Regions from separate parts of the Homo sapiens genome. Here region 1 is linked to region 2. The links are contacts of gene promoters, found by promoter capture Hi-C in blood cells and fetal thymus (Javierre and others, 2016). All regions are on one chromosome and are shown on one strand. The core of a region is centred on a gene start or on the middle of the fragment in contact, and the rest is flanking DNA. Distances in the headings are between cores, read along the strand shown. Region 1 overlaps ZFAND2A (zinc finger AN1-type containing 2A). Region 2 holds the start of GPR146 (G protein-coupled receptor 146).

Evidence for each region. Contacts are between HindIII fragments. The CHiCAGO score rates a contact against its expected background, and 5 or more counts as called.
Region 1: a contact is called between a fragment that was not itself captured here and the fragment with the promoter of GPR146 in region 2, in 2 of 17 cell types (naive B cells and M1 macrophages). The highest score is 5.8, in naive B cells.

What each region holds. Positions count from the first base shown.
Region 1 is chr7:1,150,233-1,157,251 of GRCh38, forward strand. It overlaps ZFAND2A (zinc finger AN1-type containing 2A), which reads right to left. Exons shown (of 5, transcript NM_182491.4): 4 at 5,221-5,352; 5 at 2,675-2,992. The coding sequence ends at 2,837. Among named protein-coding and RNA genes, the nearest start is that of ZFAND2A, 6.5 kb to the right of the region's middle. The HindIII fragment of the contact is 2,743 bases long and covers 4,399-7,019 here.
Region 2 is chr7:1,040,454-1,048,127 of GRCh38, forward strand. It overlaps GPR146 (G protein-coupled receptor 146), which reads left to right and starts at 4,093. Exons shown (of 2, transcript NM_001303473.2): 1 at 4,093-4,205. All of the region lies in intron 2 of CHLSN (cholesin), which reads right to left. RefSeq lists enhancers at 201-708, 1,216-1,723, 3,212-3,767 and silencers at 3,873-4,362, 4,543-4,592. The HindIII fragment of the contact is 2,309 bases long and covers 2,364-4,672 here.

The DNA of each region.
Region 1 (7,019 bases), core at 4,520-7,019, 110 kb after region 2:
TCGTTCCCCTGACTGCAGGTCTGACCACCTTTTTGCAGAACGCCAACAGAATACAAACCCTTCCCGTTACATTTTTAGATGGTGAAAGCAGAAAAAAAAAAGGCAGTGGCTTGTGTTTTTGTGAACTGTCTCAGCGGGACATCTGGTGGGCACAGCTGGATGGCCAGGGCAGTTCAGAACAGGACAGAACTTGGGGGAATTTTGTTTCACCTTATTCCCTGACACCCCCTAAGTTCCCAGGAAATCACTGCACTCTTGATGAGCAGAGCGGCTGTCAGTATAAATCTAACACCAGTATTTACGTTACCCGTGTTCATCACTTCACAAAATCAGACGGTGGTGGAAAGTGTCAGGCCACGAAGGCCGCATCTGTCATCTGAGCCACAAAGGACTGTGCACCTCACTACCCCCCTTCCCTCCCGTTTTGGCTTTCTGCTCTTCAAACCTATAAAACCCAGTCTCCTGTAATCTCTGGCACTTGTGGAAGCCCTAGTTCCTGCCATTGTAGTTTTAAGTCACTTCTGGAAGTTTCCACTGCTTCATCACTGGACAGAGCCATCTTCAACAGGTGGCATTTTGCAACTTTCTTGTTGGTGCTGAAATAGATCCAGGTGCAAAGCAGCTCTCGGGCTTGCTGGCTGCTGACAACTGTGCCTTTTTTTTTTTTTTTTTTGAGATTCAGTCTTGCTCTGTTGCCCAGGCTGGAGTGCAGTGGCACAATCTGGGCTCACTGCAACCTCCGCCTCCCAGGTTCAAGTGATTCTCCTGCCTCAGCCTCCTGAGTAGCTAGGATTACAAGCGTGTACCACCACCACACCTGGCTAATTTTTGTTTTAGTAGACATGGGGTTTCACCATGTTGACCAGGCTGGTCTCAAACTCCTGACCTCAGGTGATCCGCCTGCCTCCGCCTCCCAAAGTGCTGAGATTACAAGCGTGAGCCACTGCGCCTGGCTGAACTGTGCCTGTTTTAAGAAGTTGACCGTGGCAGGGACAAGTGGTCCAGGAAGACACACCTTCTCTCACACAGTGTCCCAGCCCCTTGGAGGTCAGGAACGGGCACGCAGCTGTGCCCTCAAACAATGCGAGTAGCACCTGTGGCCGCCGCTGGACAAGAACCCTCGGCCAGGCAGGTGGATGTCCTTCCCCCTTCTTGGCCAGATAGTCACATCGTTACAGAGGTGACATGGTGAAGAGCGCAAGTGAGCTGTCTGGTGTTTGCTGGTTTTGAACTCCTGACCTTAGGTGATCCACCCACCTTGCCCTCCCAAAGTGCTGAGATTACAGGTGTGAGCCACTACGCCCGGCCTAGTTTGTGTATTTCAGTGGGGAAGTTTCAAGGTTTCAGGCTAACCATCTTCACTAAAATATAAAAGATTAGCCGGGCATGGCAGTTTGGTGCCTGTAATCCCAGCTACTCGGGAGGCTGAGGCAGGAGAATTGCTAGAACCTGGAAGGCAGAGGTGGCAGTGAGCTGAGATTGTGCCACTGCACTCCAGCCTGGGCAATAGAGCAAGACTTCATCCCTTTTAAAAAAAAAAAAGCAAAGCCAGCCAGCATTGAAGCTGGGGATTCCCGTGAAGATGGCCCGGAGGTGCTGCTGGGCCATTAGAAGTATGGGGAGTACCTGAAGGCGGAAGTTACCTAGAGTGGAAATAACCCACACGGCAGTGCAAACGGGAAGGACCTCATCACTTTCCACCAAAAAGAACAAAGAACAGCTCTTTTCAGGTTTGTCTTGATGATGCAGGAATGTTGATCATGTCAGAGGATCTTGGAGGGCAGAAAAGGTGTTTCAGAAACCAGCTGTATGATGCTGCTGCTGCCGAAAGGTTGTGCTGGAGCGAGCTGCTTCTGTAACTTGGGGTCCCAGTCCTGTGTCCTTCATCCATCCTGACGAAGTCGCACCACTGGAGCATCGCGTCACACTGTGCAGTTACACACAGCAACCTTTCCGTGTTCACCAACCAAGAGCTGCAGCACCCCACACAGACGAAATTGCGTTCACATGAGCCGGGTGAACCAGTACCCGAGTCGCTGGGCCAGCCCGCCAGGAGCCAGGGTGAGGAAATCTCCCAACGGCCTGGATTCAGAGACTGTCATGGGTGAGCACCTACAGAGAGGGTGGATGGATCAGCTCAGCCTCCATGTGCTGACCGCAAGAACCCACACAGCTTCCTGCAGGTAAGCAACTACCACTGGCCTGGCCCAGGGATGGACGCCAGACACCACCAGGTGCAACAGTTGAGGCAAATACAGATGCTTCTCGATTTGACAAACATTAGCATTACGAGTTGAATCATGTCCCCACAAGACATGCTGGAGCCCTAGACTCGGGACCTCAGAGTGTGACCTTCTGTGGACACAGGGTCTTTTCAGAGGTCACGACTGTGGGATCACATGACCAGCATCCTTACAAAAAGGGGAAGTCGGGACACACACAGAATGCCATGTGAAGATGAAGGTGGAGACGGGGGTTGTGCATTGACGAGCCCCGAGATGCTGGGGAGACGCAGCCGATGCTCCCCGCAGCCCTCAGAAGGGGCTGGCCCTGCCGACATCCTGCGCCTGGACCTCCAGCCCCCAGAACTGTGAAAGAACCGATTTCTATGGTTTGAGCCACCCAGTTTTTAGTACTTGGTGACGGCAGCAGTGGGCAATGAGAACAACTAGAATCAACTTCAGCATTCAATTTTATTATAGTCCCATCTCCCTCAACAAACAAGATCAGCAGCCAGTGTGGGATGGTGCTCAATGGGGCTCCACTTCCCACTAGAGTGTAAGCTGCTTCCACGCATGCTACTGCGTGCTCCGAGCCATCGCAGCGGAGTCTCTTCTCACCCAGCTTTGATGGTGGGGCGACTCCCGTGTCTGCAGCTGTGGTCCAAAGGGTGTCTGTGCTGGATACAGAAGTTGCCGTGACATTGGGCACATACCATCTGCAGCATCTCTTTCTTCTTGCAGCCCTCTTTTGAGCAACGGTATGTAAAAATCTAAGAGAGCAAAGTGACTTCAACAAGCAATTCTTTTTTTGGAGACAGGGTCTCGCTCTGTTGCCCAGGCTGGAGTGCAGTGGCTTGATCTTGGCTCACTGCAACCTCTGCCTCCTGGACTCAAGTGATTCTCCTGCTTCAGCCTAGTACCTGGTACTACAGGCACACACCGCCACGTCCAGCTAATTTTGTCTATTTTCACAGAGATGGGGTCTTGCCATGCTGCCCAGGCTGGTCTCAAACTCAGCCTCAGGTGATCCTCCCGCCTTGGCCTCCCAAAGTGCTAAGATTACCTGTGTGAGCCACTGTGCTGGCCTTAAATTCTTTAACAGCCTCCGGTAAGAACATTCCCATTTAAACTGGACACAGTTCCTGTCTGCACAGAGTACAGATGCAAAGTTTCATTTGACCATCTCAGTGCAGGTAAGAAGAACATGGGGCTGGACCCAGTGGCTCACGCCTGTCATCCCAGCACTTTGGGAAGCCAAGATGGGTGGATTGCCTGAGCTCAGGAGTTCGAGACAAGCTTGGGCAACATGGTGAAACCCCATCTCCACTAAAATATAAAAGATTAGCCAGGCATGGTGGCGTGGTGCCTGTAATCCCAGCTACTTGGGAGGCTGAGGCAGGAGAATTGCTAGAGGAGGCAGAGGCGGCAGTGAGCTGAGATTGTGCCACTGCACTCCAGCCTGGGCGACAGAGCAAGAGTTCGTCCCTTTAAAAAGAAAGAAAAAAAAAAGCCGGTCAGCATTGAAGCTGGGGATTCCCGTGAAGATGGCCCGGAGGTGCTGCTGGGAGGACAACAGAGAGAGGCAGCCAGGAAGCAGGGAGCGGGAGGGAAGGAGGCCAAGCACAGATGACAGGCAAGCCCCACAGAGGCACTGGCTCCAGGAGCCCTGGGACAGTGGAGGTTGTCCCCATCAAGGGAATATCTATCATGTCCCAGTACCCACCGGTCATTTTTTTTTTTTTTTTTTTTGGTGCCAGGATGTAGGCAGCGATATAAAGTCCTAGGAGTCAGAACTCCAAGAGGGGAAGGCAGTGAGGAGAGTGGGGAGGGTTCCAGCAGCCGGGGGTGGCCCTCCGGCCAAGGCAGGCAGGCATGGCCATGCTGAGCGACCATGCAGGAGGGACCCGTGCAGGGATGCAGGCAGAACACAGGGCGTGCCCACCAAAAGGACAGGAGCACAGCGGGCCAGGAGCAGCCGGGAGGGCATTCCTGTGTGGGGGCCTTGGGGCAGTGCTGGGTGAGCCCCCAGCAAGGGAAGCTGTGTCATGTGGAAGAAGCGGGTGTGCCAGAGAGCTGTGATGTCTCAGAGGCTTAAGAGACCTCCAGAGGCTGAGGGTCCCAGGGCACAGCCACAGCAGGGAGAGCTAGACAGGGCCAGAAAGTGGGGACCAGAGCAAGCTTCCGCACAGAGAATTTTGTGTGGCAGACTAAGGAACACTGATTTTATTCTCTATGTTTGAGACCAAAAGTTATTTGGTTTATGGTAATATAACTGTAAAGTATTGAACATCATATACTAAGATAGTTGGTAACCACCAACCAGGACCCATGACTAGGAACGGATTAAGCCTGACAGCAGCCAGTTCACTAGAGAAGCTCCTTGAGCTGGGCGTGGTGGCTCACACCTATAATCTCAGCACTTTGGGAGGCTGAGGCGGGCAGATCATAAGGTGAGGAGTTCAAGACCAGCCCGGCCAACATAGTGAAACCCTGTCTCTACTAAAAATACAAAAGTTAGCTGGATGTGGTGGCATGCGCCTGTAGTCCCAGCTACTCGGGAGGCTGAGACAGGAGAATCGCTTTAACCCGGGAGGCAGAGGTTGCAATGAGCCGAGACGGCACCATTCACCATGGCACTCCAGCCTGGGTGACAGAGCAAGACTGTCTCAAAACAAACAAACAAACAAACAAACAAATGAAACGCACATGAACAGAATGGATCTAGAAAGCCATGTGAATTCTCCATCTCAGGAGGGAAACTAGTAAATTCCAGTCAAGAAAGACGAACCTGACCTGGGATCCCTCATATTAAAGAACATTTATAAAACTGAAAACTCAGGCCCCTCGCAGTTTAGGACAGGGATAACGCAGCGTTAGGACTCTTCTTTTCTACTTTGTACATAAACTATTGGGAGTAATTTTCAGGTAGCAAACTGACTCTTCCCAAGGAAAAACCAGGCTTCCCAGATGAAGGAACTGAGGCGGGCTCTGTCCTTACCTTCTCTTTCTTCTTCCCAGGGTGAGAGTCACAGTCTCTGTCAATGTGATCACCAACCACCACGTCTGGTATCTGGCCCTTTTTTACTGGGATGGGGGTATTACAGAGTGGGCATACTGGGACGTGAACATCCTAAAAATAACAAAGGTAAGATGGCATCTGAGACTCATGCAACTTAAACTCACAGAAGTTTTAAACGAGTACTCCTGTGCGGCACACTTAAACACAAAGAGAGGACAAAAACCGGTCTCCCGAGCCCTCCGAGAACAAAGCATCACTGGGTCATGGATTAGCGGCAGCCATCTCTAGAATGTGGGCATCAGCTGCCCTGAGGAGTCTAGTGAAGTTTCAACGAATGGACTTCAGCCGACTGCAGAAACCAGCTGGGGCCATCTCAGGCTGGCACCGCCCAGGTGAGAACAGAGCCTGCCCAGACACCTCCACAGGGAGGAGATGGAGGGAAACATGGACCACAAAGACCCTCCAGCTCCCCTCAGTCGCCAACGGCCTGATCCCTTTGCGGTTTCCCCAGTGGCTTCTACGTACACAGAGAGTTGCTTGCGCCCAGATGAGGCCACGTGTACCTAGGGTGAGCTCCCAGGTACTAACGACCGTCACTGGCTGCAGGCCAAGGTTGTGAGGGCTCCAAAGGGGTGGACCGCCCAGCAAGGCTAAAAACCTGAGCTGGGGGCTCCGAAGGGGTGGACTGCCCAGCAGCTGAAGGCCCAGCAAGGCTAAAAACCTGAGCTGGGGGCTCCGAAGGGGTGGACCGCCCAGCAGCTGAAGGCCCAGCAAGGCTAAAAACCTGAGCTGGGGGCTCCGAAGGGGTGGACCGCCCAGCAGCTGAAGGCCCAGCAAGGCTAAAAACCTGAGCTGGGGGCTCCGAAGGGGTGGACCGCCCAGCAGCTGAAGGCCCAGCAAGGCTAAAAACCTGAGCTGGGGGCTCCGAAGGGGTGGACCGCCCAGCAGCTGAAGGCCCAGCAAGGCTAAAAACCTGAGCTGGGGGCTCCGAAGGGGTGGACCGCCCAGCAGCTGAAGGCCCAGCAAGGCTAAAAACCTGAGCTGGGGGCTCCGAAGGGGTGGACCGCCCAGCAGCTGAAGGCCCAGCAAGGCTAAAAACCTGAGCTGGGGGCTCCGAAGGGGTGGACCGCCCAGCAGCTAACGCCCAGCATGGCTAAAAACCTGAGCCAGGGCAGGAATTGATGGAAAGGTCAATGAGAAAACCGAGGTGGCAACCGACATGGAACGGGTGGCAGGTGCTCACGGAATTATGAGCACACCCGTCTACAGCCCGAGCTGGGAGAGTCACAGGTGGTGGTGCTTCCTCATTTGGTCAAATGAAATAAAGTATTAGTAAACGGTCTCCAGCCAGACCCCACCCCATGCTGGGGCAGGAAGGGGCAGTGGGAAGACAAGCTGGGCAGTCTGGCTTAGTCATCCGTGCCTAGTAAACGCAGGGAATGTGAGTCACCCTCCCCACCCACCGTGATGGCCTAAAAATGGCTGGAGGGTCAGACCCTGGCCAACACTGGTCAAAGCACAGAATGCTGGGCCACCCACATTACCACTGCCACCACGGTCAAGTGGCAGAGTTCACTAAAATGACCTGTGACCCATCCAGAGACAAAGTAAACACGGGCTGGGAACCATCTGAAAAGTCAACAACAAGTCTCAAACCTCTGGACTCGGGGCAAGCTCATTTCCTTAGGTCCTCTTTCAGTTTCTGCTGTGTACTCTGGGAGTCACCTAAATACTATGTCAAGGCTGCAGTTATTCAAATCAATAAGCGTATTTACTGC
Region 2 (7,674 bases), core at 2,843-5,342:
CACTGCATTCCAGCCTGCATGACAGAGTGAGACCCTGTCTCAAAAACAAAAAACAAAACCAAAACAACAACCTAAACCTCACAAAAAATGAACTCAAATAGATCATCTATTTAAATGTCAAATGTAAAACTATAAAACTTTGATAAGAAAATGTAGGAGAAAATGTTTGGGACCTGGGAGTCATTGAGGAATTCTTAACCATGACACCAAAAGCAGATCCTTAAAATTAAAAAGAACAAAAAAAAAAAAAAGGATAAATTAGACTTCACCAAAATTAAAAAGAAAACAGCCTTTTCTCTGCAAAACCCTCATTAAGAGGATGTAAGAGATAAGCTATGGACTGGGACAAAATATGTACAAACCACACATACACAAAAGCCTAGCGTCTAGAACACATAAACAACGAGAAGGCGCAGCTCGGAGCAGGGCTGGGAGGATGAGCAAAGGCAGACGTGCCGGCTGCAGCCGCGCTCCGTGAGTGAGTGGCTGCTGCATGCCGGGCCTCCAGCTGACAGTGCCTCCCGGGGTCAACCCGAAGCCAGAGGCTCGGCAGTATGCTGGAGACCCATCCTGGGCACCTCCCACGTTCCCTGTGGGAACAGCTGCTTCTGCAGAACATGGAAAAGGTCCAGGCTGGAAGCTGTGCAGACGGAATTTAGGAAGAGGGAATGGAGAGACTGCAGGAGGGAGGGAGGCCCCTGCACGGCAAGGTGGTGGCCACATGCTCCAGAATAGGACTTGGGCTCCGCACTGCAGGGAACGGGACCTGGGCTCCGCGCTGCGGGGAAGGGGACCTGGGCTCCGCGCTGCGGGGAAGGGGACCTGGGCTCCGCGCTGCGGGGAAGGGGACCTGGGGTCCGCGCTGCGGGGAAGGGGGCCTGGGGTCCGCGCTGCGGGGAAGGGGGCCTGGGGTCCGCGCTGCAGGGGAACGGGACCTGGGGTCCGCGCTGCGGGGAACGGGACCTGGGGTCCGCGCTGCGGGGAAGGGGACCTGGGCTCTGCCCAGGGACTCCACAATTCCTTACTAATGTTACTGCCGTTTATGGGGGCTCTGAACAACACCACGTTTTACTAACACATGCACAGAGTGTCAGATGATGACATGCTGTCTCACTTATGCTAAGGCTCACTCTCATTTTATCATCTGTAACGTCAGGGTGCGCCTTATAATCAACAGGCCACAAAGAAAGTCACAAGCCATACTCACAAGAACTAGGAAGTTCGTTGCAAAATATTCCTTGTCCGTGATCAGCACGGCACACACTATCAGACTCACTCTGCCAACACAATCACTAGAGAAGGTTCATCTCCGAGGGGAACGCCAGCCAGCTTTTCCCACCACTCCCCGCCCCCCCGAGAAAGCCCACGTGCAGACAGACCCAGGCCAGCTGGGCCCCTCTCCAGCTCCTGACCAGCAGCCCCGGATCCCTGGGTGGCGTGCAGCTGACCTTCCGGACCGCCACTCAGAATAAGCAAGAAAGCCTGCCGACCCGCCTGAATGCGGCAGGGGAAGGGGAAGGGCGGCCCCAACATCTCCGTGAGACACGCGGCTGCATCACAGCAGCCTCGGCAGTGCGCGGGGCTGCAGAATCAGGTGCACAACTAGGGCATCCCCCACCCGCAACACACACGGCACACAGGAGCCTCGGCAGTGTGCGGGGCTGCAGAATCAGGTGCACAACTAGGGCACCCCCCACCCGCAACACACACGGCACACAACCACAGAGGCACGGCCCCAGGCCAGGAGCGCACAACTGCCCTCAAATGCCCTCAGCAGCCACGGCACACAGCCACAAACACATGACCCCAGGCCAGGAGCACACAACTGCCCTCAAACACCCTCAGCAGCCACACAGGGGAGGCCACGTCCACGTGACTTCAACCATCAACACTAGACTAGGGTGCAACCGCGAAGCTGAGTCAGGGCCACACGCCCCCCTACGCCCCAATCTGTGCCCACCCTTCCCCCCACCAACTGAGTCTTGTACAGGGGCTGGCCAGGACCCTTGGATACGCAGCTGCAGCCTCTGGAGAGTGTTTACACCTCCAGCTACGAGTACTTATTGTGGTTCAGGTGGAGGGTGGTTCCCTCTGACGATCTCCCCAGGACACACACGAGCTTTCTGCCATTCTCCCTGGCAGGACTGGCCTGCTTGGCACAGGAAGTCTCTGCAGATAAGGCGGTCTGCAGTGACCTGAAAGCTCAGTGGCTCAGAGGAAGCTAACCTCTAGCATTCCCCAGCCACAGAGCACCCCTGTGGGTAGGACCCACAGAGCCTGGCATTACAGGGACCAGACAGCACGGTGCATACTCTGACCAGGGATTCTGAGGTCTTGGGCCATTTATACCATGGAGATAACGAAGCTTACTCTTAGGCGGGCTGCTAGGAGGGCCCAAAGTCCCAAACCCTGATCTAAAAAGCCAGAATACCCCTGGGTTCAAATCCTGGCTCCACGGCCTGCAGTGTGACCTGGGCTAAGTTGCTTAAGTTTTCACAATTAAATTTAAAATGCATGGCCGGGCACAGTGGCTCACACCTGTAATCCCAGCACTTTGGGAAGCCCAGGCAGGCGGATCACTTGAGGTCAGGAGTTCGAGACCAGCCGGACCAACATGGTGAAACCCCATCTCTACTACAAAAAAAAAAAAAAAAATTAGCTGGGCATGGTGGCACGCACCTGTAATCCCAGCTACTCAGGAGGCTGAGGCTGCAGTAAGCCAAGATCGTGTCATTGCACTCCAGCCTGGGCAACATGACAGAAACTCTGTCTTTAAAAAAAAAAAATATTAAAATGCACATGGTGACCTATCTCATTGACGCTAAGGCGTACTCTCACTTTATCATCTCTAATGTGAGGCTGCGCCTTAAAATCAGCAGTATGTCGGAATGCAGTGGGCAGAGGGCCTTCTTTTTAGTAATCCATAAAGTAATGGCATAGCTAACACTAATCAATCGTGTCTTAGGTTTGATGAAATACGGACGTATCTACCTCAAAACAATGGTTGAGGCTCAGAACAGAACCTGACACAGAATACGCCCTCAGGTATCGGTGTTGGCTGCTTGTGACTGACTTTGGCAAGTAAGATCAGTACCCGGCACCTCTGGGCACACAGGGCCCGGGCTGCATCCACTGTGCCAGGGACCTGGTGCCGGGCTGGGCAGCAAGTCAGTATCACATCAGCAGGCGTGGGCCGTGGTGAGCCTCTCCCTGCCCTCCCGCTGGAATAGAAAGCTGATCCCGACGTCCCACTCCGACCCACGGTCAGGAAGCCGTCCTGTCCAGGAAGGTGGCTGAGGTACATCCCTGAACACAGTAGGCCACAGCATCATGCAGCGGAGGGCCAGTGGCCGCTATTCTTCCTGCTGGTGTTCCACTCGGCCCGCAGCTCACAGCAAGTCTATGCGGAACTGTGCAACCCACATGCTTTGATTTTCAGAAATGTTCTTAGATCCTGAACCAGAATGTGCTGCAGGGGGGACTGTTTCACCTCAAAAATTACAGCAAAGTAAATGTCCTTGTTTCAACTTTTCCAATGTTTAACTTGTAACAATAGCTACAAAAGTAATCAGGCAGCAATGTGTTTCTTTAAACGGCTTTCCTGTGAGTGTTCCGTTTACAAAGAAAATCCTAAAACCAGGAAGTAATTGGTGACTTTGGAAACAGCAAGCAAACTTCGGTGAAGAAAGAGGGGCAGGTGTACCTGGAAGGACTAACTTGCAGCCACTCATTTCCTTTGGAGGGCGGTGGGGCCTGCACCCTGCAGATTAGGGTATATTCTGACTCAGCAAAATAGGCACCAGCGCCTGTAAAAAGAAACCGCGCTGGGCACTAAGAGAATTCTCAAAAACTCCCAGAGCCCTGGGTGTGTGTCCTCCCACAGGGAATCTCGCACGAGTTCGTCAAATGGCTGGTCTCAGGTTACACAACCAGCACTGCCTCCACCGCCACCGCCCCCCAACCTCACTGGTCCGAGCGGTTCCCCGCGGTCTAGCCGCGAGGGCGGGGCCGGGGGGCGGAGGCCAGGGCGGGACCAAGGCTGGGGGCGGGGCCAGGCATGGCTGCCGCTCGCCGGCCGGGGGCGGGGCCGACGGTCACGTGTGTACACAGGGCCCGGGCGGCGTGCGCGCCGTGAGCCCCGCCGCCTCCGCCAGCCCGAGCTGCCCGCCCGGCGGCGACTGCGCCGGCCGCCGCCCAGCAAGCCGGTGAGTGGGGCCCGGGAGCCTGGGTCGGGTCGGTGGGGCACACCCCAGTCTCCGCCTGGGGAGGGAGCCAGCCCCAAGCTGCTGTGGCTCCCACGGCGGGCGCTGCGCTTACTGGGACCCGGGTCCTCTGGCCGCTGCCCACTGCGGGGCTCCGTGCCCTTGCCAGGAGGGGACCGCTGTCCTCCGGCCGCGCTCCGAGCTGAGCCCCGGGGGCGGGCTTTCGGTCATTAACCTGGTGATGGCAGCTGAATCTGCTGCTGGCGTAGGCGGCACAGCGCCGCCACCGGCTCTCCCATGTCCGACAGGGCACCACTGATCCTGCTCTCCTGGGCCACTATGGTGACTGCTTTCGGCCCCTTCTGTGATTAGTATTTTAAAGTGAGTTTTGGATCTGTGTCTACATGGAGGTGTCGGATCTGCTGTCAGTTGTCTTGGACAGTTGGCAGGGCATGGGACGGCTCTTTCAAAGCTTCACTGGAAGGCAGTGCTCTCCAGCCGCCAAACCACCACTACCAGCAGCAGAAAACCCACTATTAAGTTAGTATTACAAACCTGGCAAGTCAGTTCTCTAAATTAGGCATAAGTCTATGAATCTTGATGTGACTGGTCACAGTGGCTTATCTCTGCATGCATGCTACGTGGTGGACCAGAGGATAATTCTGTATTCGTCGTCCACAGCCTTTGATCTCTTCCCTGCCCATGAAGATGTACTTGAGTCCTCCATTCCACTTTAAATAGCCAGCTCCTGTCCACACGGAACAGCACGACATCTTTTATCTTTTGCTACCTGCAGCACCTAGCAGAGGCCAGCATTCAATAACAGAGGGCCAAGAGGCTTGCTTTAAAGGCCTCTGCAAACTTGTATGAGTAAAATGGTTCTGACCATGTTCCCAGGCTCCTCACGCATAGTGGTGATGAGATAGTCTACCGTCCTAACTGGGGCACCGTTGAGAGTGAACGGAGGCACTGTTAATAATTAGACGAAGTGCACACTCACAGTACCCATGACCTGCTGTGCAGCTCCTTCAAGAACTACTGTAAGGCCTGGCTCCCCAACCAGAACCCCTGTTGTCTTCCTCAATGAAGAAGGCCTCTGAAGACAAGTGACTTAAGAACATAGTTTATATGTATTGAATACTGTTGTGCCTTTTCACAGAGAAGAGGTCGGGGCCAGAGCAGCTCACTGCCCGACGCCACACACATCCGTGCTGGCGTCCACGTGTCATCCTGCCTCTCTAGCCAGCATGGACATATCCTGAGGATGGAGGACAGAGGAACACAGATTTAGGGCAGAATGTAAATGTGAAAGTTGACTTGGAGTCCCTGCAACTCATAAGCCCCAGTAGGCTGATGAAGAGAGAAGGGCAAAGGGCGCGCACCTCATGTGGGTCTTAGGTTAGGATGTAAAGGCTGATTATGTCTATCATACAATGAATCAATGGCATACTGCACAGATCGCTGCATGGGGAAATATGCTCGTGTAATTTACAGTCGGAAGAGGGACATGCTGCTCACTGGGGCAGGGAGAAGAAGGGGCTCCTCAGGGAGCTGCAGCTCTCACAGCCCCTAGGATGTCACCTGGAATCCTGAAAAAATAACTGCCGCCTGGCCTTTAATGACCCAACCACAGCGAGGTCTTGCCTTTGCAGAAGGAAATTATCACCCAGAGAACCCGGCCGACCGTGTCATGCACACGACGATCCCACGGTGCTGTTTTCTGTCAACAGTGTTTCCCAGCCATTCCCTCCTGCCTGCCAGCTCCTCTGCTCTCCAGGGCTTTCACTAACCCACCTGCCCAACTGACCAGCATTAGGCTGTCCAGTTAGCCCACATCTGTCCAGGGGTCTCAAAGGCTCAGGACCCCAAGACACCATCCAGGTAGCCAAGAGGACAGGGAACCCAGTCTGGAGAGTAGAATAACGTTTCGCTCCAATTTGAGATCCCAAAATGAGATGCTGCCCGGGACCAGAAGTCAGTTTCTTAGGAGCGTGCTGTCTACCCAGGAGCCTCCGTGTGCAAACAAAATACCCCCTTGAGCAGCAGAGGGACAAGGTGGAGGTGGGGCAGGTGTCTGTTCATCCCCACAGAGCCACACCCAGGTCCCTTCCTGCAAAGGCCAAGGACTTTCCCCATTTTAATTGGAACCAAAGCAAGCCTTGCAGACCACTGTCGCTACCACAGCTAGTGTGATGAGGAGAAATAACCTGCTGGCTCCTCCCTGGGAAACAACCAAGGTGGTGATAAGATCTGCGGCTCAGAGCACTTCCCTGCAGGTTAAGGCCACGCCTAGTAAACCGGGGCTCGACTGAGGAGCCCCGGCAGGTGCCAAGCCTGCCCAGAGTCTGCAGTAGAGACTCTCTGTTCTTGGCCATGTCTTTGAATTTCTGAGGAAGTCTTTTTTGTTTGTTTTTGTTTTTCCCTGGTCTGATGTACCTGGAGAGGGAATTAGCCTCACACCCAGTTAGGGAACAAAAAGCCAAGTAAACAAAAGAATGCTGTTCCACCTTCCTCCAGGGAACTGGCGCCCATAGCTGCAGGCACAGGTGCCCAGCCCGCTCACTGGCCCAGCAAGGTGCTTGGTCTCAGGCCCCCAGAGCCCGTCCTGGAGCCGCAAACATGCTCGCTATTATCCATGGAAAAAGAGAGGCATTCTCTTTGTTTATAGTCTAAGCCAAGTCACCTGATTCACTCTCACTACTCTGCAGTTTGGAATTGTAAAAAGCAAAAGGCTACAAAAATCAAAACCATCCACCTATGTAATGAACCATTTCTTATCACAGCCCAGGAAGGCACAGATAGGAATCAGTGTGCGTAAGCTCTCCACGTGGAAACCCTGTGAAAACAGCAGCCTTTCCTAAGCATCTGGCTCCTAGGAGCTGGATGTTAATTGTTGCTAAAGCCTGGGTTCATTACTACAAAAGAAAATAAACATTCCAGAGTCATTTTGAAAGCATTTTGATTGTTCTAGAATATTCACCCAAGGTTGAGCGTCTCATGGTGCATGGCAGGTTCGGCCAGGAGCTGGCCGTGGCCTTTCCACTCCTTTCCTGCCATCCTGAGGATGCAGTGCCTGGGGCCTCGCAGTTCTCTTTCCACTCAAATCTAAGGCTCTAAAGCTTCAACAACTGTCCGGGGACAATAAGAAGCGCTGAGTCCCCATCCTGCCTGCTCTCCTTTCTACTCAGTGGGGAAATTGGATCACTCGCCTTGGTGGATCACTCGCCTTGGGGAAAAGCCTTTTACGTCACTGAATACATCCCCTTCTACGGTTTTCATCCAACAGTCAGCCAGGCTGCTGCAGCACACATAAAAACTTCCCCTGCCTGCAAAGAGCTCCAAGTAGGTGGGAAAGAGATGGATGTGCGGACAGGCTTAACCCAGCAAAGACTGGCGGAGGGGTGTGGAGACAGTGGTCAGGGGTGGGTTCCCGGGGGTACTGATGCCCAAAATAAAATGTCAAGGACGAGCC